Regions from separate parts of the Homo sapiens genome. Here region 1 is linked to region 2. The links are contacts of gene promoters, found by promoter capture Hi-C in blood cells and fetal thymus (Javierre and others, 2016). All regions are on one chromosome and are shown on one strand. The core of a region is centred on a gene start or on the middle of the fragment in contact, and the rest is flanking DNA. Distances in the headings are between cores, read along the strand shown.

What was found. Contacts are between HindIII fragments. The CHiCAGO score rates a contact against its expected background, and 5 or more counts as called.
Region 1: a contact is called between a fragment that was not itself captured here and the fragment with the promoter of SKIL in region 2, in 1 of 17 cell types (fetal thymus). The highest score is 5.2, in fetal thymus.

What each region holds. Positions count from the first base shown.
Region 1 is chr3:172,746,791-172,751,367 of GRCh38, forward strand. ECT2 (epithelial cell transforming 2) reads left to right here and starts at 3,936. Exons shown (of 25, transcript NM_001258315.2): 1 at 3,936-4,067. RefSeq lists enhancers at 3,472-3,741, 3,842-3,891, 3,912-4,171 and a silencer at 4,282-4,351. The HindIII fragment of the contact is 750 bases long and covers 2,526-3,275 here.
Region 2 is chr3:170,356,021-170,360,664 of GRCh38, forward strand. SKIL (SKI like proto-oncogene) reads left to right here and starts at 1,695. Exons shown (of 7, transcript NM_005414.5): 1 at 1,695-1,743; 2 at 3,679-4,644. The coding sequence starts at 4,312. RefSeq lists an enhancer at 268-367 and silencers at 648-1,547, 1,708-1,937, 1,988-2,117, 2,208-2,277. The HindIII fragment of the contact is 9,771 bases long and covers 1-3,243 here.

The DNA.
Region 1 (4,577 bases), core at 1,651-4,150, 2.4 Mb after region 2:
ACTGTGAATCTAATTGGCTGGTTCATCAAAGGAAGAAAGACAGAGAACTAGTCTTCTGAATTTGGAAACTGTTCTATTTATTTAATGATACTGCTATTTATCAGAAATTTATATGGATGTAGTAATTTTTACATATTTTGATTCCACTCTCATCCTCTATATTTAATCAAAGTCCCAGTAATTTTTCCTATTCCTTATCTCTCCAACCCATCTTTTCTATCTTAGTTCAGACTATCATTTCCTATGAGTTTGAATTCAACCATATTCTCACTGGTCTTTCTTCTATTTCATTCTTCTATTTCAAGTGAAGTTGTGTTGTGTTCCCAGATTGCTACTTTTTTTTTTTTTTTTTTTTGAGACGGAGTCTCGCTCTGTTGCCCAGGCTGGAGTGCAGTCGCGTGATCTCGGCTCACTGCAAGCTCCGCCTCCTGGGTTGAAGTGATTCTCCTGCCTCAGCCTCTGGAGTAGCTGGGCCTACAGGTGCGCACCACCACGCCCGGCTAACTTTTGTAGTTTTCTTAGAGACGGGGTTTCACCATATTGGCCAGGGTGGTCTCGAACTCCTGACCTCAGGTGATCCGCCCGTCTTGGGCTCCCAAAGTGCTGGGATTACAGATGTCAGCCACTGTGTCTGGTCCTGATCGCTACTTTTAAAAAATAACACAGACCATATAATTTCCTTGCTTCAAGGTTTTTAATTGATCTTCAGTGCTTTCAGCATAAAGTTTAAACTCTGTCATGACAGTGGAGCTCTTCCCAAGCTCCTTCTAACATGGCATTTATTTTACTTTTTATTTTTTATTTTTTGAGATGAAGTCTCGCTCTGTCGCCCAAGCTGGAGTGCAGTGGCGCAATCTCTGCTCACTGCAAGCTCCGCCTCCCGGGTTCACGCCATTCTCCTGCCTCGGCCTCCCGAGTAGCTGGGACTACAGGCGCGTGCCACCACGCCCGGCTAATTTTTTTGTATTTTTAGTAGAGACAGGATTTCACCATGTTAGCCAGGATGGTCTCGATCTCCTGACCTCGTGATCCGCCCGCCTGGGCCTTCCAAAGGCATGTAATCTCATGCCTGGGATTACAGGCATGAGCCACTGCACCTGGCCAGCATTTATTTTTTTTTGAGATGGGGGCTGGATGGTGGGGGGGAGGGGCGGTCTTGCTCTATCGCCCAGGATGGAGTGCAGTCACTACCTAGGCTGGTCTTGAACTCCCGGCTTCAAGGGATCCTCCTGCCTTAGTCTCCCAAAGTGCTGGAATTATAGGCATGAGCCCCCACACCTAGCCTAACCTAGCGTATGTCAGTTGTCTTCCACTGTCCTCTTCATGTATATTATGATCCAGCCACACCAAACTGTTTACTGTCTCCTATATATATTGAGCTTTTATGAGAGCCTAAAGTGCACGTAAACAAGCTAATATTAAGAATTTATGTTTTTAAAAAAGTTCAAGGTTAATATGCCATTCAGTTCAATTGCCTATGCCGTATATAGTATTTAAAAATTTTTCATAATGCTGATCTTGAAACACTATAGCACTTGAAACAGCTTCTGACTCAGTAAGACTAAGTTACTTGTATCATTGTTTTGTAGGTATTTGAATTCTGTGAAAACCTATGCATGCAATAAATTTTTCACCGCAAATACAGCTATCTGCTAGAAGTGCCATGAGAACAAGGCCCATATTTGTCTTGTCACACCTATATTCTCAGTGCTAGCATAGTACCTAATGGGTGCTTAATAGTTATTAAATGAATAAACTATGATTAGGTTAATCAGGACATCCAGTCTCTCAAACATTATGAATGAACTTGGATCTAGCTCATTCACTCTCGAAATATTTATTTGGTACCTACATGTGAAGATTCCTGTGTTTATTAGAGAGCAATGTGTAACATTTGCCTTTGCAGTACTAGCTTTTTGAAAATACCTGAAGATGAGGGATCATGTTTTACTTTACCAGACACCAGCCCTCTGCTAGGTGCAATTAAGTGGCATATGATCACCTATGCACACGATTATCTGAAATACTCCTCTCCACATTGCTTTCTTTGAGCCTGCAGACAGATCTATACTAGACTTTATTTACACTCATCTATTATTTCTGGGTTCTAATGCGGGCTAAAATATTTATTAGGAGACACTGGGTAAGTTACTTAAACCTTTCCTACAGTTTCATGGTATCATGGGACTATGATACCTACTTGTGGGTTGTTTTAAGGATTAAATAAGGTATAAAGTGCATAGTAAAGTATCAGTATGTTCATTCTCTTTCTTCTCTCCCTTATACTGTAATTATCTGTTTATCTGCTAATTTCCCTCACCAGATTGTGTGGTCCAGACAGGCAGTTTTCTATGCCTTATTCATCTTTATAACCCCAACAAGCACAATGGCTGTCTTAAAATTAGTAAATATTTGCTGAGTAAATGAAGACCTAAGAGAGTGAAAAAGGTTGTATTACCCGTTTATTTGTTAATCTAACTGCCACACATCCCTTAAAAGAAATCAAGTACAGCTTTTGTTAGGGAAGCTTAAAATTCATGGCAATGATACCATACACAGTTAATCATTAGCTTTGGAAAGTCTGTTGAGCAGAAAGCGGTGCACAAAGGAAGTAGGGCTGCTTCCCACAATAGCTTAATATGTTTTCAGTGATGAACGTTTTTGGAATGCTGGGCACACCCGACTTCCAAATACGCAAGCACATTCCAAATGGAAATTTCAATTACTGTTTTTCTTTTTTTCTGCCGTAACAGTTATCACAGCATTTTAATGAAGGTCAGACTTAAATACTGACAAGCAGGGAAACCAATAATTACCAGATTGCTTCATTCATTTTGTGGACAGCATTATAAACTTTTCAGGCATTCTAAGATTGCCTGACAAAATTAGAAAAAATTGTTAAGTCCCCACAACCTGCTTGAGATGCTCACAAGTGTTCCATCCCAAAGTACACGTTTGCCTCTTCTTATTGGTATTTAGGTTCTGGCATCTGATTCCCCTTTCTTCTTCTATTTATATTAGCCTTCAGGTGGGAACTATGGAAAACCCACCTGGTGGGGGTGTATTTTTCTTAAGAGATTGTGTTATATGGTATCATATTTAGAAAATAAAGAAATTATTTTCATAATAGCAACGCTAATCACAGGAAAAACTTGATACATTCTTGACTAGACTTTAGGGGAAAGTACAAGTTCTTAGTGGGCGGAGGGGGGCAAAGACGAAGCAATTTGGCTCCAAAAATTCTAGAATCTCGTGGCATATTTTTATCAAATTCAAGCTTATCTTTAAAAAAATCCGAGAATTTTTCTAATTTCTAAGAATTGATTCTAACCCGCGATACTCCCTAGATGGGAGCGCAGTGCTTTAAATAATAGCATTTAAATAAGCGGCTGCTGATTTGAAGTCCACCTGGGGAGTCCGAGTTCTAGGACCGGTCCTTGGCCCTGCCACACGCCAATACAACCATCAAAGTCAAAATCCCTTAACTCAAATTTAAATACATTCCTAAAGCAGAAAGCATCCCGATAGGAAAATCCTACAGCTCACAGCAAGCAGCAGGGAAACATTTATCTCTGGCGGCACTGATTTAAGCTTAAAAGATTTGGTATCGTTTAAAAAAAAAAAAAAGCTGGGTGGGGCCGAGGAGAATCCACCCAAACTTTCCTCAGGAAGTAGGATGTTTACTGAGTAAATATGCGGTAGTCACAGAAACACCTGCTACTCCTTTAAGACCTCAGGAGCCACCACCGCCACCTCCTGGCCACATCCGGGCACTTCTCTGCAAACTCCTGGCGTCCCGACGCCCGAGTCGTTGGGCTTATTTGAAACACACGCACAACCAATCAAGCGGCGCCTGCCGGGACTTGGAGAGCGTCGACCAATCACCGCCCCTCTGGAGACTCCTGCCTATGGGAAAGAGGTTGACATCACGCGCCAATCGGCATGGCTCTTAGAGAGAGCAGCTTAGTTTTTGAATCGGTTGTGGCGGCCGCCGGCGAGGAATGGCGGTATTTGTGAGAGGAGTCGGCGTTTGAAGAGGTGGAACTCCTAGGGCTTTTTTGAGAGTGGTAAGGACTCTGTGTGAGTGAGAGAGGTGCAAGTGGGCGAGCGGCTCCAGAGCCAAGGGCTCTTTTGCCTGCGGTCGACGTCCCCGCCCCTAGTGACCGCGAATTCCGGAGCGCCCCAGCTCAGGCTTCCCGGATCCGGGAACTCCCTCGCCGCACCCCACCCCCAGCAGCCGGGCCCTGACGCGGAGTGGGAGACCGAAGCCCCCAGTATTGCTGGGCATCTTCGCCCTCACCTGTTGGCTCTTTTGGACAGAAGAGTGTGGGTGAAGGGAGGGAGTTGGGAAAGGGATTTTGGCAAGCCGCGCAGCCCTGTGGCTTTGGGGGCCGGCACTTGCAGCCTTTGGGGGCTTATCTCAGAGTGCGCCGTGGTTTTATTCTAGGATTCATCCTGGCTTCTTTGCGGGAAGTTTAATTTTTCGTTTTTGCAAGATAAATCCAGGCCATCCGCCCCTCGTCCTCCCCAGCCACCCGGCACAGATGTGTCCGGCTTAGTGGTTAAAGGCGCAGCCT
Region 2 (4,644 bases), core at 445-2,944:
TGTGGAATTATTCATGTTCAGGAAAGGAGGCAGTCAAGAAGGAAGAAAAGGTGGGGGGGCGGGGTGGAGAGGGGGCACGACCTGGGAGCTCGGCGGTGGAGGCCTAAGGAAGGGAACTTGGGTGGGGGTGCGGGGAGTGGTGGGGATTGAGAGGCTTGTGAGCCTTTCGGAGGCCTGTTGTGAGGAAAAAAAAAATAAAAAGTACGAGCACAAGAGTATTTCCAGCCGGCCGACTGCAAATGTGGGCCCCCACAGGAACAACCCGAAGCAGTAAAACTAGAAGAAATTGGACGAAAATGGGGGGGAAAAAAGGGACAAAGCTCGAGTCTCCTGAATTTTGTGCACTGCTACTCGGTGGACTATTTCAGTTCCTGATCTTGTGGTGGGGTGGAGAAAAGGGGATTTCTTGGTGTTTCGAAATGTGACGGAGCAGCTCTGCAGAGTTCAATATGCTAATCGGCTACCCTGGGAACCAGGAAGACCACCCTACACGCCTCAGAGGGTCACAGCCGGAAAGCTCTTGAGTCCTATCTTCCCTACCTCGTCTCGTCCCTCTCCAAAAAAACACACACACAAAAAAACACCCTCAGTAAACACTGTAAAAACCTTTAATTTATAGCTCCCTTCTGGAACCGAGAGAGCAGCCTGGTGGGGTGGAGGCAGGAGGCTGGGGAGTAGGGACAGAAATGTTTGCTCTCGGTTTTGCCGGAACTTTGGCCACCCCTCCCGCCCGGCCCGATGGCGGATGGAGGTCAGCCAGGGGAAGGCGTCTGGGTGGAGGCCGCCCGGGCGAGGCCGGGGCCGCCGGGGCGGGGCGGAGCGCCGGCAGCTGGCTGGGCGGCCCTCGGGCAGGAGGCCCCGCGGGGGCGAGGGGCAGCCCAGGAGGGAGGTCCCGCGGGGGCGGGGAGCAGAGCCGGCCCCGGGGGCCCTGCAGGGCGGCCGCCGCCCGGCTGCCTCCGGGGCGGGGCGGCCCAGCTGCGGCCCCGCAGGGGGAGGGTCGCCCGTGCCTGACCTCGGGCGGCGGCACTCTGCCGGGCGGGCACTGCCTCCGCCCTGCCGGCTGCTGGGGTCGCGCACAGTGCACCGCGCGGCTGCCCTGCCCCCTCTTCCCCGCTGCGCGGCGTCCGAGCGGCCAGGGCGCCCCCGCGTCTGGCCCATCACCACAGAGCGGCGGGTGGGGCGGGGGCGGGGCGGTGGCCCCAGACAGCCGGCTGGGCGACTAGAGGAAGGAAGGAGGGAGGGCGGCGGTGAGGGTGGGGTGGGGAGGGAACATCCTGTCTGCGCCGGGTGCACCGCAGACAGCGCCGCGCGCCAGCTTCCCAGACGGCGCGCGGGGCCAGAAGCGCCGGGCGCGCGCCTGGGGGGAGGGGCACGCGCGCGAGACGACGGGGCCAGGGGGGCGCTCTGAGGAGCCACAATAGGCCAGACGGCACGCGCGTCCACGAGGGGGCCGGGAGCCGCGAAGTGGCGGCGGCGGCGACGACGCCGGCGGGCCCGCGCGCGCGGCGCCGCCGCTGGCTCCGTTCCCTTCCCCTCCCCCTCCCCGCCGCCCTCGCTCTCCCCCGGGCGGCCGGAGACGGCGGCGGCGTCTGCGGGAAGCTGTGTGTCTCCGCAGTGACGTGGGCGGGCCGAGGACTCGGTGACGTCAGAGGGCTGTGTGTAGCGATGTGTGTGGGGTTCGGAGCCGCGCCGGCACAGCCGAAGGGAGCGGGCGAGCGGCGACGGCGGCGGCGGCGGGCACAGGTGCGGCTCCGGCTTACGGCGGCGACGCGGCGGAGGCGGCGGGAGGCCAGAGGCGCTCACCCTCCTAGGAGCCCGACGGCGGCGACAGGGGCGGTGGGGAATTCACAAAGCTCGTCGAGCTTACCCGGGCACCGAGGCCCGAGTAGGGGGTTTGGATGCGCGGGTCCCGGGTGGGGTCGGGGCCAGAGGGGGTCGCTAGGCGGGTGTTCCACGGCTGATCACGCTTCGTTGGCCCCAGGCGGTGGGCGCCGGCAGGGCAGGGCGCTGTAGTTGACGGGAGCCGCGGGGACCCCGGAGACCCGGACGCCCGTCACCGCCCCCCTCCCCCAGTCCAGCAGCGCTCCGCGGGGATGCCCTGGTCTCGACCCGGTCCGTCAGCCCCCGGCGGCGCAGGGATCCGCGCCCGGCGCCTAAACTGCCCTGGTGTCCTCTTCGTTCTGGCCCGGGGCTGGCGCGGGGAGGTGCAGCATTAGGGGCGCTGAGGTGACACCCGAGAACTTCCCAGGGAGAGGGTGCGCGGGGGGGTGGATTTCCACAGTCCTTCCCGCGGCCCCCGCGGGGGGGCGGTGTTGGGAGGGCACTTGGGGTTATCCCAGGCTCGCCGGTGGGGGTGGGGGGACTCCTCCCTTTACTTCCCTCCACCCCCTTGCACACCCACCCCCAGGCTTCCCGTGTCCCTTGTTCTCCCTCTCTCCGGGTTAGAGATAGGTGGGTGGCTTTGAGTGGGCGGAGGACTTCAGGGTTTTAGGGGCTCCCCCATTCTAGGTCATGCCTCTTGCTCTCTTCCTTGGCCTGTGTTGAGTAAGGTGTGTTCCTGTGGTGGACGAAAGTCTGTACGATGGTTGGTGGCATTGGTCCTTAATCCTTTGGGTCTGTTTTAAGGTAAAGTGCTGAGAGTTTGGGAAGCAAAAATTTCTATTTATTGGATTTCTTTTGGCTTTTCTCTCAAGAAGGAAGTGGAAAAAGAGTCTTTTCTTTTTCCCTCTTCCTCCATTTGCATTCTTTGTGAGGTTTGTCTGCCTTGTGCTTTTTGTCCCGGATTAGTCTTGTTGAAGGATGGAGATTCCCAGGCGTGGAGTCTATAGCTTTTGGCTTCCATTAAGTAAAATCGCTAACCTTTTTTTAAGAGAAAGTTAATTTTTGCCTGCAGTCATTCCAGAAAAATAGTGTACACGGACTAGCTGAATTAATCCACTTAAAATTGTAACTTAGTTACATATGGTAGATATGTTAACTCCTATCTGATTTTTTTGGATGAAACTGTTGTTTTGTTTTTAAATAGGAGATGAAGTAATGGATTTTTTTCCCTCCCTTAAAATGGCATAGCTGAGAAAGCCCCGGTACTACTAATTGAGATGATCTGCTTAAGAGTCTTCATATTCTGAACTCGAAAGGCCTTTTATGTTATATTATTGCTCGCTTTACGCAACTCCAAATTGCTTTCCTATTTAAATGAATGTTCTTCTAGTAAACTGGTGTTAGATTTAAAGAAATCACTCAAGCTTCACCTTGGTAAACTGAACTCAGTTTAAGATTAAGAAACTGATTTCGGCCGGGTGCGGTGGCTCACGCCTGTAATTCCAGCACTTTGGGAGGCCCGGGCGGGCGGATCACCTGAGGTCAGGAGTTCAAGACCAGCCTGACTAATATGGTGAAACCCCGTTTCTACTAAAAATACAAAAAAATTAGCCGGGTGTCGTGGCTTGTGCCTGTAGTCCCAGCTACTCCGGAGTCTGAGACAGGAAAATTGCTTGAACCCGGGAGGCGGAGGTTGCAGTATGCCGAGATCGCTGCACTTCAGCCTGGGCGACAGAGCGAGACTCCGTAAAAAAAAGAAAAAAAAAAAAATAAAAGAAACTGGTTTCAAATTGGCCCTTTGGCCTCTGGAGCAAATTCAAATGTAACTCTTCCCCAACCCCCCTTCTCTTCTTCCAGATTAATTAAAAGAAGAATGAACTATAATCCTTGAAGATAACTGGGCAATTTTTTAAGTCGGAGGCTGTTCTTACTGGTGTGAGGATTTACACACGTCTTCAGTTTTTCAGCACAGACCAGCAGACCATCATTTTTAGAGGAAATACTCCCTCTGCCCTCCTTTTTGGTTTCCTTGGTGGTAAAGATTAAATTTGGTTGCATCATTTTGACTTGTGTTTGAGTCTAGATTTTATGGCACAAGGAATGGCATAAACTTTTCATGTGTTTTGGTTAAAACAAACCAGACCATTGCATTGACCCTGGACATCTTTAATTGAGAAATTGGTAACTTTATTTTAATATGTATATCTGAAGAATTCAAGAAAACAAAGGCATCCTCAGAGGTGTGCCTCTTTTCTTTATTATTAGAGGCAAAACGAACAATTTTATAGGATTTGTAGTGAAATTATACCAGATTATAAGGAGAACCAAAACTAAGTCGCAAAATTTATTAATTTAAGGGGCTCTCGCTTTGAAAGTTTGAGAGTAAGTTACGATAGGCATTTGTATCCATTCATTACTTTCCTCTTTTCAAATAAGCAACTAAATAGAAATGCTAATCTCAGACTTAATTATTTAACAGAAGAGTGTACCATGGAAAACCTCCAGACAAATTTCTCCTTGGTTCAGGGCTCAACTAAAAAACTGAATGGGATGGGAGATGATGGCAGCCCCCCAGCGAAAAAAATGATAACGGACATTCATGCAAATGGAAAAACGATAAACAAGGTGCCAACAGTTAAGAAGGAACACTTGGATGACTATGGAGAAGCACCAGTGGAAACTGATGGAGAGCATGTTAAGCGAACCTGTACTTCTGTTCCTGAAACTTTGCATTTAAATCCCAGTTTGAAACACACATTGGCACAATTCCATTTAAGTAGTCAGAGCTCGCTGGGTGGACCAGCAGCATTTTCTGCTCGGCAT